Linked DNA regions of Homo sapiens: all the other regions are linked to region 1. The links are contacts of gene promoters, found by promoter capture Hi-C in blood cells and fetal thymus (Javierre and others, 2016). All regions are on one chromosome and are shown on one strand. The core of a region is centred on a gene start or on the middle of the fragment in contact, and the rest is flanking DNA. Distances in the headings are between cores, read along the strand shown.

The links. Contacts are between HindIII fragments. The CHiCAGO score rates a contact against its expected background, and 5 or more counts as called.
Region 2: a contact is called between the fragment with the promoter of DAG1 here and the fragment with the promoter of QRICH1 in region 1, in 6 of 17 cell types (M1 macrophages, endothelial precursors, M0 macrophages and 3 more). The highest score is 7.7, in M1 macrophages.
Region 3: a fragment that was not itself captured here is called in contact with the fragment with the promoter of QRICH1 in region 1 in 3 of 17 cell types (naive CD8 T cells, naive CD4 T cells and total CD8 T cells); the score reaches 5.3 in naive CD8 T cells.

Annotation. Positions count from the first base shown.
Region 1 is chr3:49,092,633-49,095,332 of GRCh38, forward strand. It overlaps QRICH1 (glutamine rich 1), which reads right to left and starts at 1,439. Exons shown (of 10, transcript NM_198880.3): 1 at 1,280-1,439. RefSeq lists enhancers at 563-1,075, 1,444-1,563, 1,674-2,013 and a silencer at 1,074-1,323. The HindIII fragment of the contact is 6,132 bases long and covers 1-2,700 here.
Region 2 is chr3:49,469,017-49,471,716 of GRCh38, forward strand. It overlaps DAG1 (dystroglycan 1), which reads left to right and starts at 1,251. Exons shown (of 3, transcript NM_004393.6): 1 at 1,251-1,417. RefSeq lists a silencer at 930-1,669. The HindIII fragment of the contact is 13,712 bases long and covers 1-1,908 here.
Region 3 is chr3:48,682,997-48,685,696 of GRCh38, forward strand. NCKIPSD (NCK interacting protein with SH3 domain) reads right to left here. Exons shown (of 13, transcript NM_016453.4): 1 at 2,641-2,700; 2 at 1-16. Among named protein-coding and RNA genes, the nearest start is that of NCKIPSD, 1.6 kb to the right of the region's middle. RefSeq lists silencers at 2,427-2,700, 2,540-2,700. The HindIII fragment of the contact is 1,161 bases long and covers 871-2,031 here.

The DNA.
Region 1 (2,700 bases), core at 189-2,688:
ACTGTAAATCAAACTAGCAGATGTTTTGTATTAGAAAAAAGAGGTGCCTATTTCTCTAGAACAAACCTAGAACTTCCTTGACACCAAAACACAGCGGCAGGGTCAAAAAAAGAGCTGAAAAGGACTGAAATCCTACACCAAAAGTGACTTTTACAGTGATACACTATCAGATTTTAGTAATTTCTGCTGGGATTTCTGCAATTTCAAAAAAGGTAAAGCACTGATTCTCAGGTTGTTCCATTTTGTTTAAGGCCAACTTTTTGGCTGAGGCAAAGGTGGGCCTTTAATATAATAAAGTAAGCCCCTCCCACTTACGCAAAAGAAAAGCTGCGTTTAAGGATTTAAACTGGCATTTTAGAGCTCGGAGTTCACATGGGCCACATAAGCGAATTCCCTTCCGGAGCGCACAGAGGTGACGTGTATGAATTACGCTTATGGACGTATTAGTTTCTAATGAAAGATAAGCAGGTACCACTCAAGGGCCTTCTAATATTAACCTTCCCTGCCCGGCAGAAAGCCCAGTACAAGGTGAGGAAATCCGAAGGGGCTCACTGCCCTCTCAAACCAAGAGGGCTTGGTTTCCGAAGCAGAGAAACACCCTACCCAAGCACCCGCACCGTACTTGGGCCTCAAGTAACGGCATTCTTCGAGGAGAACGGGCAATCTCGCCCCCCTCACAGAGGAGCGGAACCGCAAGCCAGACAGCAAAGCTGGTTGGTTTCTCTCCAGGCCGAGGCCACGGATGCCCGGGAACGTCACCAGACCAGAAAGGACCCAATCCTCAACCTTCCCAGCGCAACGAGCCGCGGCCGGCCCTCTGCTCAGCAGAAGCCTCCTGCGCGCTCTCGAGGCAGCACCGCCACCCGATATCAGAGCGCGCGCCCCAAAACTGGGGGTCGTCACGGGCGCGCGCTCCAGAAAGCCGCGGTTGCCCACGGGCCACAGCTCCTAGAGCAGAGATATCCGGGCCGGGAACGCGCACGTCGGCGGCCACGCGCACCGAGAGCCGCACAGCGCGCGCGCGTAAAAACAGGCTCAGCCGCGCGCCCGCACCGGCGCGCCATCTCGCGCCGCGCCCACCCAAATCCCCGGGCCACCCCTCCCCCATCCACAGGGCGGGGTGCGCTAGCCCAGGAACGTTTTCGGCTCCGGAGCCGCCCCGAACTCTCCAGGGCCCAGCGGTAGTGGCCCGCCCGCCCCCGCCCGCCGTTGTGTGGGGTGGGCCCCCCGTCTCAGGCCTACAGCTTCGCCGCATCCCCACCCGCACTGGAGCCCTCACCCGGCGACGTCACTGCCGCCGCCGCCGCCGCCTCCGCTGCACCCGCCGGCCCCGCCGCACCGCCAGGGACCCTGGTTCTGCCGTCGTCGCTCCAAGACCGACAGGGTTTTCTCCTCACAGCTCCCTGGGCGCCATCTTACATTCAACCCTCACAGCCAATAGGAGCCGATTGCTCCTCTCGCGATAATCGGGGCGTCGGATCCCGCGAGATCTGGGACTGCCTACCGGCCAAAATTAAAGTGAACGCTTCAGCAGGGGAAGGTGGCCGCGCTTCTGGCCGCTAGAGCGGATAGTGGATCCTAGGGTATGGAGCGGCTCGCTCCGCCCATGGACGCCTCTCCATGTGGGGCGGAGCTAGGGCCGTGGCTTGGCCTAGTAGTGGAGTCTCGGAAGGCTAGGGCTCCAAGCTAGCTCTTTGGACCCACCTTCCGTCGCCCGCCAGAGCCTCCTTTGGTCGAGCACGCCCACGCGGGGCGGGGCCTGGCCAGGCTCGGCCTCTCGCTTAAGGTGGACCCCACAAACTTCTGTCCTGGGCCTGGCGTCCCCAGCCGTGCCCTGCCTGGGAAGCCTCTAGGTTGCTCACCTCCTGGAGGAGTCAGCATCTGGTACTCCCGCTGTCTGCTGCCATCTGAGTTCAGCCTTCCGCAGTTGGGTCCACCTTAAAGCGGGCCCCCGGGTAGCCTAGTGTTTGTATACAGGGAAAATGTGGAAGGCGTTAAAGCTGCAGGCACACTCGGGCCTCAGCAGCAGCCTACACTGCCCCCAGAGGGCTTCCAGCCTGCTGTAGACTCTTTTTGCCTCGGAGCTTTTGCCCTTGTTCCTCTTATCCTGGCAAACTCCCCGTAGTCTTTCGTGATTCCCTTCAGAAGTCACTTCGTTAGAGTAATGTTTTCTGAGGCCCAGGCTGGGTCAGGAACCTCTTCCAGTCTTGCACAGGCCCCAGGGAGACCGCTCCCATACAGTGCTTGGTCACCCATTTCCCCTCCCGTGAACTTGGAAGGCCACCACAGCACGTATGCCCCATCTCACTTTGCCTGGCACGTAGTAGGCACTCAAAAATTATATGCCGAATGGGCCGGGCACGGTGGCTGAAGTCTGTAATCCCAACACTTTGGGAGACCGAGGCGGGTGAATCACCTGAGGTCAGGAGTTTGAGACCAGCCTGGCCAACATGGTGAACCCCGTCTCTACTAAAAATACAAAATTAGCCGAGTGTGGTGGTGCATGCCTGTGATCCCAGCTACTTAAGAGGCTGAGGCAGGAAAACTGCTTGAACCTGGGAGGCAGAGGTTGCAGTGAGCTGAGATCACACCATTGCACTGCAGCTTGGGGGACAAGAGTGAGACTCCGTCTCAAAAATAAAAAAGAATTATAGGCTGATTGGGCGCAGTGGCTCACGCCTGCAATCCCAGCACTTTGGG
Region 2 (2,700 bases), core at 1-2,500, 380 kb after region 1:
TTGGAGCCGAGACACTGAAGTATAGATAATTGCAAAAAGGTATGTTTTTGGGAGATGGGGCATTCCTTTCTTATCTCTGCAACTTGCATCTCCCAGACGCTCCTGAGGAGGGAGGGAAAGCCAGGGAGCCCCAGAGCTCTCCGGGATCCAGGGAGGAAACCATGGCTGGTGGCAGCCAGTTCTGTGTTCAGAATGTGCTTGCTGTCAAGAGTGCAGGCCTGGAATTCCAGCCTGGCCACAGGCCAAGGAGGGAATGGACCCATCCTGCGCATGGTGTGGGGATGAGAAGCAGAGCCCACCACGGGTCTCATTCCCAGACCCATCCGGTAACTGTCAGTTTCAGTAACTGTGAAGTCTGGGGCTTTTGGGGTGGGGGGCTGCAGGTTAAGTCCTGGGGAGAGCTAGAGCTACCTTAGGACCCTCCCCTTGAATGTTCCAGGCAGCAACCCCCCTCTCTTATTTCTTCCCCCACCAAAAGAATGCAGGCCACTAGGAGTGAGTGACCAGCGCCTGCGAGTTAGAGCTATTTTGGGCAGGAGAGCAGGCGTCGGATTCCAGTGTTCCAGGCAGGGGGAGGGGACGAGGGTTAGGCCTGAGGCGCTTTCCGACTCCCCAGCCTGCTGTGGGCGAGGCTCTAGGAGATGAGCTAGCTTCCCGCTCCTCCTGTCCCTGGCCTCAGTCTCCCATCCGTGTAAGGGCCGGGCAGCAAGGCTTTCATCCTTTGCAATTGAGAGAACGCTTCCTGATTGTTCTCATGGCTTAGAAATACCCCTTGATTTGCATTCGAAGGAAATAAGGAGGGCTGAACGCAGTCGACGGGTGGCCAGTTGCTGGGCCAGTTCGCAGTCCTGACTGTCCCTTGATTAGTCTTAGAGGCCCAAAGGCCTGAAGTTGGGCGGGGAGCCCCTCCCCCACACTACTGGTTCTGAAGGCTCCGAGTGACCGGGACCGACCGCCGGGGTGTGTCCCGGGACGGACTTCCCTGGCCGTGGGGGCGAGGCTTCCATAATGGGGCGTGACTTTTAGGGCGGGGGAGTGGCTAGCCAATGAGCAGAGAGGTGCTGGCCGGGGCGGGGCTTGCGCGCGGGTGCGGCGCGCTGCGGAGCGGCCGACGCAGGCAGAAGCCGGCGGCGCGCGGACAGCCAGTCGGCGCCGCGCGGAGCTGGCCGCTGGATTGGCTGCAACACTCGCGTGTCAGGCGGTTGCTAGGCTCCGGCCGCGCGCCCCGCCCTTGCGCTCAGCGCCCTCTCACCGCCCGGTACGTGCTCGCGCGAAGGCTGCGGCGCGGCGCTCGCGCCTCTTAGGCTTGGCGGTGGCGGCGGCGGCAGCTTCGCGCCGAATCCCCGGGGAGCGGCGGTGGCGGCGTCCTGGGGCCAGGAGGAGCGAACACCTGCCGCGGTCCTCCCGCCGGCGCTGGGTGAGTGCACCGCCCGCCCTATCCGCTGTGCCTGGCTGCTTGGGCCCCCATCCCTGCTGCCGGCTGAGCCTTCCGCGGAACACCTGCTGCTGCTCGCTGTTCGGCCCGGGGCGGGGACACGGCCGCGGACGTCCTTGTGGGTGAGGAGGCGGTGCCGCCCGGGCGGAGCCGCCCCTTTGCTCTGGGTCCCGCAGGCAAAGGCTCGGAGCGTTCGGCTGCAAGGCCCGGGCCGCGCGCCGCGGCGATGGGCCAGGCCTTAGCTCGGCCCGCGCTCCCGGGAACGTGGAGCCTGCGCCTTGGCCGCGGTCGTGAGCCGCCTGCGGGCCGCCTCCCTGGCTTCCAATAGGGGTTGTGGCCCAGTTGGGCCGGATTCCGACTGTGGGGAGTCGAGCCCCGCTAGAGGCAGGGAAGGGCACCGCTGCCGCCACTGCTCTGTCAGAGCTGCTCAGAGCCTTGGTGGGTTCCGTCATCCTTACTTGAGCTCCTTTGGAAGCTTGTTTACTTACTACCTTTTCACTTTGTATTTGGCAGACCTGGTTCACCTGCGAGTGTATTTGGATAGTGTCTCCACAGAAAATGTCGTCTCGGCTTGGAATCTTTTTGCCATAAATTCTAAGTTAGTTTCCTACAAACTCAACTGGTAACTTAAAATGCATCCTTTAATCTCTATAACTTGAAAAGTTCTTATTTTTGTAAATCGAGTTGCTTCAGAATTAGTTTTAATGGTGACGATGAAGTTTTGACTGGTTGAGGCAAGAGCCTGGGACAGCACCTTCATAGCGCAGAGTCTAACTTAAGATTCTAGCCTGCTGCTTCCCTAAATAAGCGAGTAGAAGTGACTCCTGGCATAGAAGCCAGACTCCGTGAAGGGAAGGTGGTGTTTATAGGACATAATTCCAGATAAAGAGCTGGATGTGCTTTCAGGTGTTTTGCAAAGTCTGGTGTAGATGGGGTATTGCAGTTTTATCAGGTTCTATGCTTAGTTAAGTTCAGAGACATTATTTTGGAATGTTCCTGTTCTAAAAAAGAATTCAACCGTACTACATTTTGGAGGCATAAAAATCCATAGTTTGAGTATGGAGAAGTTTAGTTGAACTTTTGTGGGTTTTTTTTGCTGTGAACTAAGGAAGAAGAGCTCATGGCCTGTGTCCTGTATTTTGGAGAAATCAGATTTCAGTAGGGAGTTGGATCCATCATGTGAAGACCCTATGGGATATAAAAGCTTGTGCTGACATGTGCTTTTGTTAAAAGAGGCACAGTGCAAATCCTCACTGTTCTTAAAA
Region 3 (2,700 bases), core at 201-2,700, 410 kb before region 1:
CATCCTGCTCCAGGCCCTGGGGGGGGCAGGGGACAGCAGTTAGACCTGAAGGCCAAACGGAGGTGCTCAGCCCAGGCCCAGCCCGAGATAGAACCCAGGGCAGAGAACCAATATAGCGAAAGCCTGGAATGCTAGACATAGCACAAAAAGTTGAACCAGAATATGGAATGGGGTTCTCAAACTGTATCACTCAGGGAGCTGAGGCACAGGGTGACCCCCATGCTGCCACATTACATATTAGGTCCTGATCAGGATTTTACCCCACAGCAAGGCTCTTGGCTAAGATGTTTCTGAAAATCAGAGGTCTAAAGCAAAAACATAGCCCAGGGGCTCCCAGCTTGCAGCCAGGAGCGCATACCTCGTCTATCCCTGGTCTTGGCTCAGAGCCCAGGTTGAGATGCCAAACAGGAAGTCTCCAGTATCTGGAATCCTTAATACATCACTCTGCATCTTGCTGATCTTTCACAAAACCAAGGTCATACCCCAGAACAGCCCTGTCCTTGTAAGGGCCCTCTGTAAGCCCTGGGAGCTGAGAATGGGTCAAAGGGACTTGCCCTCCCCAACCCTGCTGCTGGCCCTCATCCCCACAAGATGTCTCAGTAAGCTTCCAAACCCACCCTGGGAAGCAGTTCTGTGTTTGTGGCAAAGGATAAACATGAGAGAGGGGCCTAGCCCCTGTTCCAGGCTCTGTACTGCCATCCCCAACATTCCAGGGATCCAGTCTACTCTGCCTATCTGACATGGGGAGTGTAGGGTAGCAGCTATCAAACCAGCTACCCCCAGCCCTCCCCTGGCCCTGGCACACGTAGTCCATCAGGCTACATAGGAGTCCCGGAGCTGAGATGAACTCATTCCACCATGGGTTTGAGAAGCTTCCCTGATGGGCACAGACAGGTGGGCACAGAGGTCAGCAAAGCCCTCCAGGTGGTATGAGGTGTGCCAGAGTGCAGGGAGAGGAGACAGGGGGATAGAAAGACATGAAGACACACACACACACACACACACACACACACACACACACACAGAGAGAGAGAGAAAGAAAGGAATGGGGAAAGAGAGGAGCTCAGAGAGGAACGGAGAGGCAGACAGAGGGAAACAACGCAGAAAGAAACAGAGCCAAAGCCAGAGTGTGGGGGGAGCCGGAGGAAGAAACAAAAACACACACATGTGGAGTCGGAACGACACAGGCAGAGAGGCACAGAGTCGCAGCAATCCAGACAGAAAGAGACACGCAGAAAGAAACAGACAGTGACAGAGAAGATGGTAGCCTCTCTGCCCTCCCCAAACACCTTGCCCCACTGGTCCTGGCTGGCGGCAGGGGACTCACAGGCCCTTGACCTATGCCCAGTAGGGGAAGAGACAGGACTTTTCCTCAGAGGCCTTCAATGAGACCCCATTCCCAAAAAGGTTGGGTCTGACACACAGCAGCCATGGTGTCCACGGCCCCCACTCCCACCCCTGGCACTCCTAGATGGGATCACGCCAAGGGTCTATGAGGAAGCCCCTAGGCCCCCAGGGCCCATCCTTCCTGGTAAGACCAGATGACACTTCCAAATTTATCCCGTTATTTCTGTCCTGAACTGGGCTGGGACAGGATGTTTCCTAAAGGATAAGGACTAGGACGGGGCGGGGGTGTCTGGCACAGGCCCGGCAGCTCTGGGCCCTTCTTCCCCCTGTGGTCAGAATAGACCAGCTGGAGATACGCACCCCAACCCCCGCAGCAGGGCTACTCTTAGGGAAACAGGAACTGGGACTGCAGCTTCCACTGGAAGGAAATGGGGCCACGATCAGACCAGGAGAAGCTATAAGAACTCACTTCATCACAATGTGAGCAGTCCCCACTCCAGGCTGGGAACAAGTAGGGATGGAACCCATTTTCAAAGCAAGAAAGTTTGAGAAGTCAGGGTTGGGGAGTGGAGCAGACAGTGTCAGCAGGGGCATGGGTCCTTGGTTCAAATAAGGTTGGTAGAGACTTAAGAAGAGCTTAGAGGGTGGCTGAACACAGGCTAGTGAAAGACACTGAAGTACCAAAGCTTGGGTGTTACATAGGGGATGGAGGTGTCTATGGCTCTAGGGTCCAAGTTGGGGGGTTGAGGACCTGGAGAATGGCTAGGGAAACAGGTGGTGTCCAAGGTGGTCCAGGTCTCAGTGGTGGCTCCAACGGGGGGCAAGGCGCGGGGTTGGGGGAAGAAGGAAGGGAGGGAGGGAGGGAGGGAGGGAGGGAGGGAGGGAGGTTGGTTGTGGGGTCCTAGGAATCCAGAGAAGGGGCATATTAAGGATCTGGGGTCTCAGGGATTTGAATAATTGGCCAGGATTCGGTGGGGCTCAGGGTCGCCATTCAGATGGCGGACTCGATACTGAAGGGTCTGGGGTCCTGAGGAGTCTCAGTCCCAGAGTTAGGCTTTTGGTCGATCGGGAGTTGGTCTGTCAAGGGCCTGGTCTTTTGTGGGTGATGCTGACACTTGGGGTCTCAGTCCCCGTGGGTCCGGGGGTCTCAGGGTCAGGTTCTCAAACTCCCTGTCTGATAGAGGTCCTGGCCTCGGGTCCCGGAGAGGGTGGGGTCCCTGGGTCGGTTCCGCGGGGCTGTGAAGGGGTCCTGCCCCAGGGGCGCGGAGGCCGGGCGGGAAGGGGCGCACTCACCTGCAGGCGGCGCAGGTAGGCTGGCGGCACGTAGCCCGTCTCACCACTGCGCGCCCGCGC